Linked DNA regions of Homo sapiens: region 2 is linked to region 1. The links are contacts of gene promoters, found by promoter capture Hi-C in blood cells and fetal thymus (Javierre and others, 2016). All regions are on one chromosome and are shown on one strand. Each heading gives the region's core, a stretch centred on a gene start or on the middle of the fragment in contact. The rest is flanking DNA. Distances are from core to core; before and after follow the strand shown.

Region 1 (7,729 bases), core at 3,573-6,072:
CTTCAGAGACGGGGCTCCTCCTGCTTGGCCGGGGGCCCTCCCCAGAGAAATGTGCTATTTCATCTGAAAAAGGTTATACCCCAAACAGGCTGCTGTGAGGATAACAGCAACATGGCATTATTACTTTGCTGTGAATTCTGAAATGCTTTTGTGTTGATATATTTAGACCCTTCTGTGGAAGATGAGACTGAAAAACATTGCTGATTAGATTCTGTTTTGATTTGAGAAGGGAAAAGCACCTGCCCCAGAAATCTAATTTCCTGCTGGCTTCAGCCTCTTAAGAAGAGTCCACTGGGAAGAGGTTTGAGACAGACAGGGTTTGACGTGTCGCTCTCGGATTTTTAGCTCGGTGACCGAAGGCCAGTGGTTGCCCCTCTCAGAGCCTCAGTTTCCACATCTGTAAGTGGGGACAGTAATCCCTACAGGTCTCAGGGGTGTTCCTGAAGGTTAAGCAGGGGTACCACACATCCCAGTGGGTAGAGCCCTTGGGACTGTGAGTTTGGGTCCCCTGGGCCTATGTGACCCTGGAGGAGGAACTCCATCAATGGTGTCTCCCTGCGCTGGGAGGATTATTCCCGCTTCTAAGAGGCGTATCTGAGTGGAGTGGGCCTGGCAACTAAGCGTCCATTCATCCTAAGCTCGCCTTTGGGAAGAGTTGTGTGCCAGTTCACCAAGTGGCCCCAAGATTCTCCCAAATACTTCCCTTGGTCTACCTGGCAGAAGTCCTCCGAGAATTGGGGTGCCCCAGCTCCTCTTTCTACACTGGCTTCTCAAGAGCCAGATCACTGGGTCTCCTAGGGTGTCCGCAGCGTTTCCAGCACCTTCCCACGCACCTGGCTGGCTCCAAACCCCTCCAGCACTGAGGTCTTGGCCACAACTGTCCCAGTGCAGCCCCCCAGGGACGGGAGGGCAGAAAGCAGCCTTGCTCAATGTCCTGTTACAAGGCAGGGACGGGGGTGGGGCCCTCCCCAGGAGTGGGCAGATGGGATGCCCACGGGCGGAGACCCTGGGGAGGGGAGGAATTGGACTTCCTTAGTAGGCTGGAAAAGGGGCAGGGAGAGGGGGCAGAGAACAGGTTTCTGGCCCCAGGAAACTCAGGTATTGGGAGGGCAAGAGGAAGAGGGTGGTACTGCCTCCCGGATAAGGTGACCAACTTTCCCAGTTTGCCCCGGACTGGGGGAGTGGGTTCCAGGGATGCAGGGCTTTCCACGCTAAAACAGAAACAGCCGTAGACTCTGCCGGTAAAGGGCCTGGGCAAGTCCCGGGACATGCACAAACTGTGCCTTCTGTGGAAAGGGAACTGGACCAGTTCGGGTCTCGGGGGTGCTTTCAACTCTGCCACCTGGGCTGTGGCCCCAGAAGCAGGTGGCCGGGAGGCTCTAGGGATGGCGGGGGCAGGTGAGGGGAGACTGGTGGGCTCCGGAAGGCTTCTCAGCGCGGAGCTCCAGCTGCGGGGAGGCGCGGCCCCTCCCGGATGCCGGGACGAGGGAGGGGAAGGGAGGGGAAGAGGCGGGGTAGGTAGGGGCGGGGGGCGCGGCAGCGGCAGCGCGCATGCCCGGGCCCGGGGCGCCTGGACCTCGGGAGGGAGCGGAGGGCGCCTACCTGCAGGCCGTTGGGGTATGCGTCGCCCTCGGAGAGCGAGTCCACCAGGTCCTCCTCGTCCAGCGTGGCCCGCTTGTACGTCGACATCTGCAAGGCCAAATGCAGCACGGACTCCCTCAGCGCCTCCATGGCTCTCGCGCCCGAATGGGGAAGCGGCCCCGACCCTGGCGCCGCCGCCGCCGCGCCCCGCCCCGGCCTGGACACCCGAGACCGAGACCGGCCCACGGAGCGGCCCGCGCGGGGAGGGGTCCCGCCCGCCTCCCGCCCCCGCCCTCCAGGCCGCGCCCGCCTCACCCCCAGCGCCGACAGCAGGGCGGACACCGGGGGCGGCCACACGCCCCGCATGCTGTGCCCCAGACGCCTGGTCCCGCTGCCCGGGTGGCCGGGATGGGATGGGCCGGGCCAGGCGTTGCACCACCTTCGCGGGCGGGGCCTGATCGGTTCGCCGGCGCCCGGTTCCCAACCTCCGGCCTCCCGGGGAGACCCCAAGACCCGAGAGGCCCGGGGGAGATGGGGACCCCTCCCTTCCCCGGAGGTCGGGAGTGGGGGCCCCCAAACTGAAGCCCCTAGCAGGCAGGAAAGGCCCTCACAGTGACCCCTCCTTCGAGAAAATCTTAAGTCCCCCTTCAACAACCGGGTCCCCAGTGGCAGATAACAAAAGTATCAGGAAGGTGCCCTCGATGTGGCCCAGAGCAATCAAGACAGGTTCCCCCCGGCATCAGCCCTTAGGTGTGTCTAGGGGGTTAATGCTAGAAAGACCAGACAAAAAAGGTGGGGTAAAAAGGTAGGTGTCCCCTTTCAGTTCCCCTTTCTAGCTCAGAGGCCTTTAAGCCAGAGTTCGTGAATGAGTTTCAGAAAATTTCAGAGAACTCCCTGACACGGGATGAAAGGAGCTGTGTGTGTGCATTTGGATGGCTGCAGGGTGGTCCGGTGGTCACCCCCGTGCTCAAAGGTGTCGCCCTCCCTGCAACACAAGAGAACCATTGCTCCAGGGGGAGTCAGAAGCCAGGAAGGGGACCCTTCTTTCCCATCTTCCCCCTCAAGACTCGGAGCCTCAGCCAGGTGCCCCCCTCCCCAGCCCCTGAGCCCTCTCCTATAACCCTAGGCAGGGAAAGGGGGCTCTCTCGGATATGAGGTGTTCAGTTAGGGACTCAGGCCCAGCACTGTCCCAACCAAGAACCCCAGAGAGGTCTAACCCAGCAGATTTCCAAAGGACTCTCCGCTTCTAGCAAGGCGGGAATCCCTGCATTTATGCGTACTTTTCAGCTTTGCAAAGTGCATTTCTGCTCATTCCAAATTTGATTCTCACAGTCACACATATGTGTGAATAAACAGGTTTAGAGGGGTGAGGGGCCTGACGTCACAGGGACAGTGAGGGCAATGGCTCCAGATGGTCTCCTGGCTTCCACTCCTGCCCTCTGACAGCCCCCTCAGCAGCCAGGATGAGCCTTTAAAATGAAATCTGGCTGAGGCCAGGCACCATGGCTCGCTCGCGCCTGTAATCCCAACACTTTGGGAGGCCAAGTTGGGTAGATCACTTGAGGTCAGGAGTTCAAGACCAGCCTGGCCAACATGATGAAACCCCATCTCTACTAAAAATACAAAAAATCAGCTGGGCCTGGTGGCATGCATCTGTAATCCTAGCTACTCAGGAGGCTGAGGCAGAAGAATCGCTTGAACCCAGGAGGTCGAGGTTGCAGTGAGCTGAGATTGTGCCACTGTACTCTAGCCTGGGTGACAGAGTGAGACTCCATCTCAAACAAACAAACCACAGAAATCTGGCTGGGTTCAGTGGTTCACACCTGTAATCCCAGCACTTTGGGAGGCTGAGGCAGGAGATCACTTGAGTCTAATTCTAGGCCAGCCTGGGCAACACGGACCCCATCTCTACAAAAAGAAAATATATATATATATATTTATATATTATATATTTTTAATTAGCAGGACGTGGTGGTATGCGCCTGTAGTCCCAGCTACTTGGGAGGCTTAGGTGGGAGAATCGCTTGAAGCCAGGAGGTGGCGGCTACAGTGAGCTGTGATTGCACCACTGCACTCCAGCGTGGACGACACAACAAGATCTTGTCTGAGTAAATAAATAAAATAAAAAAAAATTCTGATATTACCACTCCCTTGCTTAAAAACCCTCCACTGTCCTGGAATGAAATCCAAACCCTTCACCAGGCCCCATGGCCCCTGCCCACTCTGGGCCCTCATCTTGTGCTGCCAGCGCCCCCTCCCCCACCAACCTCCTCACACAACTCCTCAGTTTCTACAAGTTTCTTCTTCCCCCAAGACCTTTGTAGCTGCTGTTGTCTCTATCTGGAACATTTTTTCCTCCTCTCTACTCTTCCCATGGTCAGCTCCAACTTCAGATCTCAGCCTACCAGCTCCTCAAATGTCCCAGGAACCCTAAGCAGTCCCCCAAATTCTCTGTTACAGCATCCTGTTTGTTTTCCTTTACAGTACTTGTTGCAGACTGTTTTGTTTCCATGTCTTTATCATCACTGTCTCTGTCCCTCTCCAGAATCCACAGCTTTACTGGGGCTGGGACCTTGTCTGGCCTGTCCAACAGAGACTCTCCATCACCCGGCACAGAGTAGGTGCTCAACAAACGGTTGTTAAAATCAAAGGGGGGACAAGTAGAGGGGAAGTGCCTTCAAGTTCTCAAGAACTCTCCTGCATCTAACTTCATAATGCCTACAGAAACAGGGAACACATCTAAAGGTCACAGGCCCTGGGGAGGCAGGGTGCATGGGAAAGCTCTGAATTCTGGAGACTTCTGCCTCACTCCCACTGGGTGGAGGAGTTTCCATTACCCATCCCAGAGAGAGAGGGGACTCTGAGGCTGCTTCACTTACTGCTGGGTTGCAGCTGGGCTTTTTCTAGAACAGGACACTTGGTTACACTACGTTACCAGGTGTCGATTGCCAGAGGAAAAGACTTTTGAAAAAGAAGTTCAGTTCACAGAACATCTCCCCGGGGCATGTGGGTGGTGTAAGGGATTCACCCGGCTGGTGTACGGGATTTGTCAGTTCTTTTATACCATCTCTTTTAAGCTTCTCACCCTTCCCTCAGAAGCAGGTATCACTGGTTCCTTTTACAGAGAATGAAACTGAGGCTTGGGGAAGTTAACTCGCCCAGGTGTGGTTAAGCGATGGCTCCTCCTCCTTCTGTCTCATTTCAGAGATTTCCCCCTTCTGGCAAGCTCTCCTGACCACCCTCCAGGGACCCCAGACAGCATTTGGTCCCTGGCTCTGTGTCCCCACACAGCCACCCTACCCCATGCTGCCTTTTACTGAGGCACACAGCATTTTAGACAGGAGAACCCTGATGGCAGAGGCTGGGTCTCACGGGACCCTGTCTCCTTAAGGGCTTAGTCTGGGGCTGGAGCCTCTACAGATGTTTGAGCAAAGGCGGGAGGCAAGGGAGGGAGGCCGGAAGCCACCCCAGGGACTCTGATGTCCACCCTGCGGCAGCCTGTCTGTGGACAGATGATGCAGGAAGCTCACGGAACTCCCAAGCAGAAATCAGCAGAGATGGAGCCTGGTTATTTTTCAGCACACAAAAGCCGAGGGCCCCTTCCTGAGATGCCTGCCTCAGCCCGGTAGTGAAACTGAACCCACCTCAGACGGGAAAGGCTTGGCGGGCTCTGCTTGGTGGGAAGTCCACAGTGGGTGAGTGACATTTCAACAGCTGCCTGGGGCCCTTCGCCCAGGGCCTTCCATTCACTACCCCAATGGCTCCCCACACCCACCTAGAGCCTCAGCCTCACAAGTACCGCTTCCAGCTTACAGAGAGGGGGAGGGGCCTAGACAGACCAAAAACCAACCATGCCACTTGACAAATTCTCTCCTAACCCCACAGTGCCTCGTCCCTGAGATGAGAATCATCACCTCCGCTTTACAAATGAGATGACCAAGGGTCAGAGAGGAGAAAGGACCTCCCCCCAGCCCTGAGTCACCTGCCTGGAGACTGAGGGAGCCATAATGCGAATCTTCCCCTTGCCAAACCCACTGACTCCATTACGCTGCCTCCAGAGAACCCGAGCCCCGCGGCGAGAAAGTGGTAGAGCTGGGCCTCGAACCTGGGTCCTGGACTCTTGGTCCTGTGCTCCTTGTGGAAGATGGAACTGCTTCTTCAGGTGGGAACCTCACAGAGTCTGGGTGCCCTGGGCAGACTGAGGCTCTGGGCTGACAGGGCAGCCAGCACTTATTCTCCCTAATTGTCTCATTTGCAGTTGTGGGTGCCACGCCTGGCCCCGAGTGTGTTGGGGAAGGTAAAGAACCTCCACTTTGGTCTTCTCAGTTCCCTTCCTGGCACTGTGCAGCCGTGGAGGAGAAATCTGGGTTGAATCTGGGTCTAGTGTTCAAGAGGAGGGCCTGGCAGAAACCAAGAGTGAAGGGGTGGAACCACAGCTCCCTGTGGACTGCCCCGTCCTCAGTCCCCGGTGCCCCAGCTGCACAGAGGAAGTGATGACAGCCAGATGAAGGTGCAACAGTGCCCAGCTCTGGAAACTCCACCCTTGTAAATCAAAGGCCTGTGGTGAGCAGAAACGAGAAATATAAACACGCACAGGTTTCTGGCGACAAAAGCCTCCTGGCCTGGTAGCACCTGGGCATGACCCCCTTTGCCCAGACGACATTAGTCACTCATATGGCTCTTGCGTTTGGTTGGCCAAAGGCGGGGGATTGTTAAGTCATCTTGGGGTGATGAGGTGGAAAAGGGAAGCCCCACATGTGAAATTCTGAGGCCTGGGACTGAGCCACACCCTCCACAGCTACTTTCACATTGTCTCTAAGCCTCAGCTCCTTAGAGACGCTGCCCTTTGTGGCCGAAGTCCCCATCAGTTACTACTTTTGGTGCTGGTAATTGGCTGGGATCTGTTCAATCTTTACATGTCATCTAAAACACACTCATATTATCTGGTAGCTAAACACTTATATTTCACAGATGCTATAATGTAGTGGGTAAAATCTCTGGATCTAAACCTCATTTCAGATCCCCAGTCTGAACTTCCCAACTCTGTGACCCTGAGCAAGTGACTCAGCCTCTCTGTGCCTCAGTACTCATCTGTCAAATGAGGAGGATGATGATAACAATAGTACCTCCCTCATAGGACTGTGGTGACACTTAAATGAGTTAATATAGATAAAGTGCTTGGCTGGGCATGGTGACTCATGCCTGCAATCCCAGCACCTGGGGAGACCCAGGCCGGAGGATTGTTTGAGGCCAGGAGTTCAAGACCAGCCTGGGAAACACAGCAAAACCCTGTCTCAAAAAAACAAAAACAAAAACAAACCCAAGTAACACAACTTTGGGCAAGGGATAAGATATAAAAATATGGCTATCATTTCTAAAGATATGCCACTTGACATTTATTATTATTACATTATCCATTATATTTCCCAGTATTTTTCACCAGAGAAATTTCCATGTGATTAGCTTATTTTAAAATTTACTATGAAGTTCCTGAAAGTGTAAACTGCTTCTTTACTTTTTAATAACAGGAATCAGCTTGTATCTCTTTTTTCTTTGGCTGCCAGGAAACTCATAGCCAAATCAGAAACTCGCCTATGGGCACTTTCTTGGCCTTTAGGTTCAGCTTTTTCCTTGTCCACATTTTCCACTCTGTTTTCCGTGATTCTGATTTTCCATTTGGTATTGCATGTCGTTTTACTGAATGTATTTTATTTATAACCTATCATGAATCCTTTGTGGAACAGAGTTAGAAACAACATTTATCAGGCAATTAAGACAGACCTGAGCCCACTCACAGGTTTCCTGGCTCATGTGACCTCGGACATGTTGTTTTCACCCTCAGGTCTCAGTTTCTTCATCCGTAAAAGGGCCATTGTAAATACCGAGTAAGCTAGAACATGAACTGCCTGGCATCCAGCAGCCCAAGCCTGCGTGAACCACACCAGAGGGACATCCTGCGCAGGCCACCTCTTTCTGCTTGCTTCTTCTTGTCTTCCTCACCACCCCTCCCATTTGCTTCTGCCCTCATCCAGATTTTCCAGTCTTGGCCTTTGTTCAGCCAACATTTGTTGTTACTCTAGCCCTGCTGTAAACTCAGTGAAAATAACAGATTGCCCAGGTGATGGAGGTTAATATCAACAGCAAGAAG
Region 2 (7,729 bases), core at 3,031-5,530, 640 kb after region 1:
GGGAACATGGCAAAACCCTGTCTCTATAAAAAATACAAAAATTAGCCAGGTGTAGAGGAGGGTGTCTGTAGTCCCAGCTACTCAGGGGGCTGAGGTGGGAGGATCACCTGAGCGTGGGAGGTTGAGGCAGCGGTGAGCTGTGATTGTGCCACTGCACTCCAGCCTGGGTGACAGTGTGAGACCCTGTCTCAAAAAAAAAAAAAAGAAAAGAAAAAGAAACAAAGACTGGTATAGCTGGAGGAGTTTGAGAGGAGCAGGTGGCAGGAGGCCGGGTGTTGCAGGGCCTCGTAGGCTATATTAAGTCAGGGGCTGGGACCTAATTCTGAGCACCGCAGGGAGGTGGTGAGCAGGAAACACAGGTGAATGGGAGGATTCACTGAGAAACTCAGAGCAGACAGTGGGTACTGGGTAAGTCTGAAGTACCCGTATTACTGTGTCATCATCCAGCCTGGCACCCCAAGAGCTCCTTCCCCTCCACTTTGCTCACCCGTCTTCCGGGCCCTGAACCCAGTCACCTCCTGCCACCTTCTTTCCACCGTCTCCCGGGCAGGGCTTCAGACCCACAGATCCTAACTTGTCTGCGCTCAGCCTGAGAGCAGGCCCGGGCCAAGCCAGGCAGGGGCCACAACTCCCCAGACAGGGGGAAATGGGCCTAAGGGATGGGGGGGTGGTCCATCTCTGCCCCTTCCAGCTTCTACCCTGCAGACAGACCTGCAGCCTGCCCTCCTTCCCTCCGGGAATGTCCAGGGCACACTCAAAACCCCATCCTGTGCCGGCTGCAGGTACGGAACAAGTAGGCTAGTGTCAGGTGACAGAGCAGCTGGCTGCGTGGAGGAGGGCTGAGGGACCGCCAGGAAGGGGAGGCTCCTGCAGTTCAGCTGGCAGCCTCCCCAGTGAGGAAATCCAGCTGAGGCAGGAAACAGGTATCTCAGCGACTTCCCTCCTAGGCCCTGGAAAACACCTTAATCACCACCGAGGCTCCCTCAAGACGCCTGTCCCCTGCAGGGCCGCCCTAAAGGGGTCAGCAGGCCAAGGCCTGCCGAGTCACCCAGGCCCAGCCCCCTCCTCCAGCAAGCCTCCTCACCTCCCAACAGCTGAAATTACACCCACACTTAATCACAGATCAGCTTCCTGTGGTCCTGTCCCCCGTCCCGGGGAAGCCTGGAGCTCCCTAAGGCCCATCTCACCCTGCTGCTGTGCCCAACCCTTCCCCATAAGCCACTGGCTCCGGACCAAACTGAAGGGCAGATGAGAGCAAGGGTAGCAGGCAAAGAGGGTCCAAGGTGTGCTGGGAGCCTGGGCTAGGAATTGATCTCATTTTTGACTTGCAACAAACTCCTCAACCCCATTGTACAGATTTGGAAACTAAGGCTCAGAGAGAGGAACTCGCCCCAGATCACACAGCCAGAAACCGCAGCCCAGAGACTCATACTTGGGTCTGTAAGACTTCAGAGACAGGCCAGGCATGATGGCTTATGCCTGTCATCCCAACACTTTAGGAGACCGAGGCGAGAGGATCGCTTGAGGCCAGGAGTTTGAGACCAGCCTGGGCAACAAAGTGTGATGCCCTCTTTTTTTTTTTTTGAGACAGAGTCTTGCTCTGTCGCCCAGGCTGGAGTGCAGTGGCGCGATCTCGGCTCACTGCAAGCTCCGCCTCCCGGGTTAACGCCATTCTCCTGCCTCAGCCTCCGGAGTAGCTGGGACTACAGGTACGTGCCACCATGCCTGGCTAACTTTTTGCATTTTTAGTAGAGACAGGGTTTCACTATGCTGGCCAGGCTGATCTTGAACTCCTGACCTCATGATCCGCTCGCCTCGGCCTCCCAAAGTCCTGGGATTACTGGCGTGTGCCACCGCGCCTGGCCCCGAAAAACTTTTTATTGTTTGTTTGTTTTGAGGCGGAGTCTCACTCTGTCACCCAGGCTGGAGTGCAATGGTGTGGTCTCAGCTCACTGCAACCTCCGCCTCCTGGGTTCAAGCGATTCTCCTGCCTCAGCCTCCCGAGTAGTTGGGATTACAAGCATGCGCCACCACACCCGTCTAATTTTTGTATTTTCAGTACAGATGGGGTTTCACTATGTTGGCCAGGCTGGTCTCAAACTCCTGACCTCGTGATCCGCCCACCGTGGCCTCCCAAAGTGCTGGGATTACAGGCATGAGCCACCGCGCCTGGCCTGAAAAACTTTTTAAAAAGAATTTTATAAAGAGACTTCAGGGGCCAAGCTCTTTCCAGCCCACCACCAGCAGCCTGGGGTGGGACAGCGACCCTCCATGTGTTGCTGAGAAGGCTCTCTAATCCCACAGGATTGGAGCTGCCTGTTTATTTGTCTAAATTACCGCCCACCAGCCTGTGAGTGCTGGGAAGGCACAGACAGGGCCTGTCCTTGCTGGTCCAACCCACCCCAGCCCCTAGCACCACACGAGGTTCACTGGTTCACTGGCACACAGTAGGTGCATGGCAAATATCTGCCCAAAGAATGAACCTCTGTACTCCCAGTGACTGCCATGGAATGTCGCTCAGTGATGATCTGTTGAATGAACAAGTGAATGAGATGATCTGCCACGGTCCAGGAATGTCTGTGGAAATTCCTCATGCACACAGCAAACAACTCCACCCACCGCCATCCTACCGCACCCGGGCATGGAGGAGCCCCTCATCGGGGGCAGAGCTGGGGGAAGGTCAGGAAAGACTGTTGGGCCTCGGAAAACATCCCACGTGCTAGGTTGGTGCGTTGGGAAAAGTAAAAGTCAGTGCCAGGAGTGCAAGTTCAGGTCAAGACTAGGGAGCTACTGGATGGCCCTGCTGAATATTTTGGGGTGAGAGGCTGAAACAGGAGGACGACAGAGGAGGCTGCCCAGAGTGGGGATGGGGGAGGAGAAGTGCTGGGTGGGTGGGGCAAGAGCAGTGAGGAGCCAGGTCTGGGTGGGGGCTTGACGAGTGACTCAGGAGGGTAGAGGTGCGATGAAGCCAGGAAGGTGAGGCCAGGCAGGCAGTTCCTGGGTAAACACCAGCCTGGTTAGAAAAGTCCCTCTCTTGGCTCAGAGAACAGGGAGGCAGGTATGGGGACTGCCTAGGAGCACCTCGGAGAGAGTGGGGGTGGCTCTGTGGCTCCCCACGGTAGGCTCGGCTCCCCAGATGTGCCCCCACCCACATCTGCCACTAGCTCCCTGCCCACCGACCCCACCCAGTCCTCCTCAAGTTCACTCAGGTCCTCAGGGCCTCTGCTGGCCAAGTGCCTTCTAAGCCTCGGGATTCCTGACCGTAGAATTCCCTTTTCCTCCACCTAAGCTCAGAGTAGGGGACTAGACTGCAAGGGCAGGCCTCTCCCTGCCTCTTGGAGACCTGGGAAGAGGAAAGCTGGGGAACTCGGGTCCCCCAAGGGTGCACTGCATCCCCGCACCACGCACTTTGCAGCTCATTCCACGCAGTCCAGCAACGCCCTGCAGCTATGCATTTTGAGGCCGTGCATTTTGAGTTCCCTTGACCCACGTGGGGCTGGCCTCAGAGAGGTTAACTAGCGTGCCCCAGGTCACACAGTTACTCAGTGAAAGGCAGGGATTGATTCAACTCTTCGGCTGTATGACTCCAAGGCCCGTGGGTGTTCCACACAAGCTTCAGTTCTGTCCCAAAAGTTTTGCTTGTGCCTACCTGGGTCCAAGCTCCCCAAGGTGATAGACGGTGTGGTAAAGTTTCAGCGAGACTCATAGGGTCCCCATCACCACTGAGTGGCCGTTCTGCCAAGCTGGCGCAGAAGGGTTCCCTCGTCCTGCCAAGTTCCCACCCTGCTCAAAGTTTCCCCTCCTGGTCCCCAGGAATGGTAGGCCGGACCATGCCCAGCGAGACTCCAGCACTCGGCAACGTGGCCGAGAGACCCACGGGCTCCCACACGGGCCAGCCCCGCCCCCAGCCCCACGAAGGGTCCTGACTGGTGGCCCCCCTGGATTAGCCCCATGCCGCAGGGTGGCGCCGGCCCGGGGTCCCCGGCGGGCGCCGCCGTCCCGGGCCAGAGTCCCCGCCGCGCAGCCTTGGGCGCCCCAGCCAAGTTGGCGGGAGGCGGCGAGCGGGACCGGGGCGCCCCTAGCCCCTCCGCCCCCGCCCCCCGCCCCTCTGCCCCGCACACTCACCGCCAGCAGCCGCCCGTGCAGCAGCAGCGCCAGCAGCAGCGCGCCCGCCGCCCGCCACCCCATGGCCCGGCCCGCGCCGCTCTCTCGCTCGCTCGCTCCGCGCCGCCCGCTCCGCGCCGCCCGCAGCCGCCCGCTCGCCGGCCAGCTCGGGACAGCGCGGCCCTCTCCCCACCGCCCCCTTTCCTCCCCGCCCGCCCCGCCCCCGCAGCGCCGGCCCCGCCCCCGAACCGCCCCTCCCCGGAGCGCCAGGCCCCGCCCACGGACCGCCCCCGGGCCGCGGGCTCTGCTCGCCCCAGCCGGCCGCGCAGCCTACTAGGCCTTTGTCTGGGCCCCCAGCCCCCTCCGCGCGGGCCGCGGCCCGGCCCGGCTCCCCGCCAAACCCGGCCTGGAGTATGGGATGGGACGGGGCGGGGGACCGGGGGCCCGGGCCCGGGCATGGGATGGGGCCGCCGGGCCAGGCGCTCTCGCCTCCCCGATCCCCGGCTCCCCCGCTTCCCCGCGCGCGCCGCCGACTTCCACGCCCCTGCACGCCCCGCACGGCCGACTCCACTCGCGCAGCTTTTGAAGATCCCGGGATCTCCTTCCCACGCTCACACGCACGCAGCTGCCGCTCCGCGCCACACGTGCACGCCAACTTCCACACCCAAGAACACCTTCACACCATAACTTTACTGCACGAACACACTTGTGCGCTACCCGGGAACACTTTCACACTCTGGACCCAACTCTGAAGTACCAACAATCCTCACCGGCTCACATGCACACTTAACTCGCTTCCAAACTCTCACCTCCACCAGGGACACAGGAGACAGCCCTCACACCACACTCAGCCCCTCACTCACGCATACATCCCAACAAGTCACGGAGCGGGAGGACGCCTTTTCACATAGATTCCTCGCAGGCACGCACATTTCACACACAGGCCCACATCATTGCCTACATGCTTACCAGCTTGTTTTTTTTTTTTTTTTTTTTTTTGAGAAGGAGTCTCGCTCTGTCCCCAGGCTGGAGTGCGGTGGTGGGATCTTGGCTCACTGCAACCTCCGCCTCCGGGTTCAAGCAATTCTCCGGCCTCAGCCTCCTGAATAGCTGGGATTACAGGCGTGCCACCACGCCTGGCTAATTTTTGTATTTTTAATAGAGATGGGGTTTTTACCATGTTGGCCAGGCTGGTCTCGAACTCCTGACCTTGTGATCTGCCCGCCTTGCCCTCCCAAAGTGATGGGATTACAGGCATTGAGCCACCGCACCCAGCCTCAGCCTGTATCTTTTACCTGTTCTCACCCACTAATCACAGTGCCTCATAGTGGGCACTGGGTACTGAACTGAGCTGCCCACCCCACCTGCACCATTTTCCATGTAAATCACTCACACACCAACTTTGAGTCACATAAATCACAGCCCCAGAGCCAGAACCACACCAACTCACACACTCAGGCCCAGACAGACAGACCCTGCCAAAGCCCCATCACAGATGCTCGGGTGGGTGGTAAAATCACAGCCCCATGATCTGTCTCTGACCCAACCGCAGGCAGCAAACAGCACCAAGCCCCCAGACCTATTCACTGCCTACTCTTCAGCTCCCCTCTTCTGCCTGAAATTTCCAGGGCAGCCCGAGGCTGATGGGTGGAGAGGAAAACTATGTGTGTGTAGCTTTGAGGAAAACCTTTTGAGTAATGATAGAGGAGGAGAATAAAACTGAAGTTTCCATTGTTTCCTGTGAGAGTTGCTAGGTTCCAGAAACTCATGGCTGGGTTTGCAGCCAGGAGTGAGGTGAGCTGTGGACAGAAGGAAATGCCCAGCTCACTGGGCGGCACCAGGCCTGGCTCCGGAAGCTATGTTCCCTGTGATAGGGGTCCGCAGGCTCCCAAGCACATTGGGGCCTCTCATCCAGGCATCTGGGGGATTGAAAAAACACTGGCATCCTGACCCCCATCCCAGATAGATCCCCTATCTCCAAAAGATATCTCCAAAATATGCCCTGTGGGGCATATTTCTGTGGGACCAGCTCAGAGTTGTAAAGAACAGAAATTGCATCCACGGTAGTCAGGCCAACTGCCTGGCCCCAACCCAGGCTCCAGGCACAGCACTGAATAAGGTCTATCTCTGATCCGCACAGGGAGATAGGGGTGGACAGAGGAGGGACGCCCAATCTTGGCCCTCAGTAAACTCTTAATCTGATAGAGGTGTGGGGAAGAATAGTCCCTGTCCGGGTATTGTTCTCAGTCTGATAGAGAATCCTGCCTCCACCACCTAGCCGTGCAATCTTGAGCACATGATTCAACTTCCATGTCTCAGTCTCTGCATGTAGAAAATGAGAATAACGTTAAGACGTCTCTCTTAGTGTTGTTATGAGAATTAAGATAAATTAATATATTTCTTTTAAAAAACACAGCCATTTCAGACACTTGGTAAGCATGAAATAAGTGGTAGCCATTTCTCTTATTACTATTTCTGGTGTGCTCCCAATCTAAAGAGAGAGACATGACTTGGCCCTTGGGGAGCTGAGGTCTGATAGAGGAGCAGCCTCCACAGCCACCCCAGGGACCTCCCATTTGAGGGGAGAGTACACCAGGTTTGCACTTGGAAACTCCCTGTCCGATGAGAAAGGCTTCAAAACTCCACTGACTTCAGAGCTGGCAGGTGGCCAGCCCTAGTGGCAGGATTTTTCCAAGGCCTTGCCTGTCCATGGATTTGTCAGCATCCGTGACAAATCGCATTTCATGAGCTGCCTCAGTGTCTGTTCCCTACCTCGGGCCCTTTAAGTACCAGAGCTTTGGCTTCTTGGATGATTTGCTCATGAGCAAAGGGGGAAAAAAAGGGAAACAAGCAACCCTTTGTAGATGTTTGGTCAAGACTAACCCAGAGCTATAAGTCTTCCTTCCTCAAAGGGGTTGAGGAAAGAGATGGTAAGGCCGACTAGGGACTGGAAGGAGCTGGGCTGACACGCAGAAAGCAGGAATATATGGCATGTTGAGAAAGTCTTCCAGGGCGGCTCCAGCAGCGGAGGATTGGTCATCCACCTATTTATTCTGTGTCCTCTCCTTCCCACTAAGGGATTTGCCTGGGTCTGTTTTAGTTTGCAGTCCTTGATATCTTTAGCAAATGCTCTCAAGTTGCTTTGTCTAGAGCCTGGCTATCTCCTCATATGGCTAAGAAGAGGAGCAGGCACAAGGCCTTCTGGGCTTGGCAAAACCTTGGAGGCGCCCATAATCTCACTGTATGTACACAGAGTTCAGGGTGCTGGTCACACTCGAGGAGAGAAACAACTCAAGTCTCATACAAGGTTCCCTGGGCACGGAGAGACTACAACAGCTTGGATAGGCAGAAATAGTCAAACAGCTTGACTTCTGAGAATAGGTGTTGGGGGTTCTGGAACCAGCAGCTGGAGTTTGTGGCTTACCTGTCCACTCCTCCAAATTCAGTAGGACTCATCTTCTGGCTTCCACTCCCATTCCAAATCTTTTCTCTGCCTGAGAGCTTATCATTCATCTTAATCACATTCCTTTGTCCATTCATTCATTCATTCAGGGCTGCAGTGGACAGTTGCGCAGGTTGTTCACTGAACAAAGGTGTGCAGCCAAGTGGGTAAATAGGAACTGTA

Evidence for each region. Contacts are between HindIII fragments. The CHiCAGO score rates a contact against its expected background, and 5 or more counts as called.
Region 2: the fragment with the promoter of HSPG2 here is called in contact with the fragment with the promoter of ECE1-AS1 in region 1 in 6 of 17 cell types (fetal thymus, naive CD8 T cells, total B cells and 3 more); the score reaches 7.9 in fetal thymus.

The regions. Positions count from the first base shown.
Region 1 is chr1:21,288,468-21,296,196 of GRCh38, forward strand. It overlaps ECE1-AS1 (ECE1 antisense RNA 1), which reads left to right and starts at 4,823. Exons shown (of 3, transcript NR_038404.1): 1 at 4,823-5,276; 2 at 5,467-5,743. It overlaps ECE1 (endothelin converting enzyme 1), which reads right to left and starts at 1,996. Exons shown (of 19, transcript NM_001397.3): 1 at 1,897-1,996; 2 at 1,603-1,689. The coding sequence starts at 1,947. RefSeq lists enhancers at 440-1,001, 4,770-4,859, 5,701-6,900, 6,240-6,399 and silencers at 1,678-1,847, 1,898-2,077. The HindIII fragment of the contact is 8,029 bases long and covers 4,657-7,729 here.
Region 2 is chr1:21,933,030-21,940,758 of GRCh38, forward strand. It overlaps HSPG2 (heparan sulfate proteoglycan 2), which reads right to left and starts at 4,281. Exons shown (of 97, transcript NM_005529.7): 1 at 4,126-4,281. The coding sequence starts at 4,188. RefSeq lists an enhancer at 2,731-3,572 and a silencer at 4,320-4,669. The HindIII fragment of the contact is 13,080 bases long and covers 3,612-7,729 here.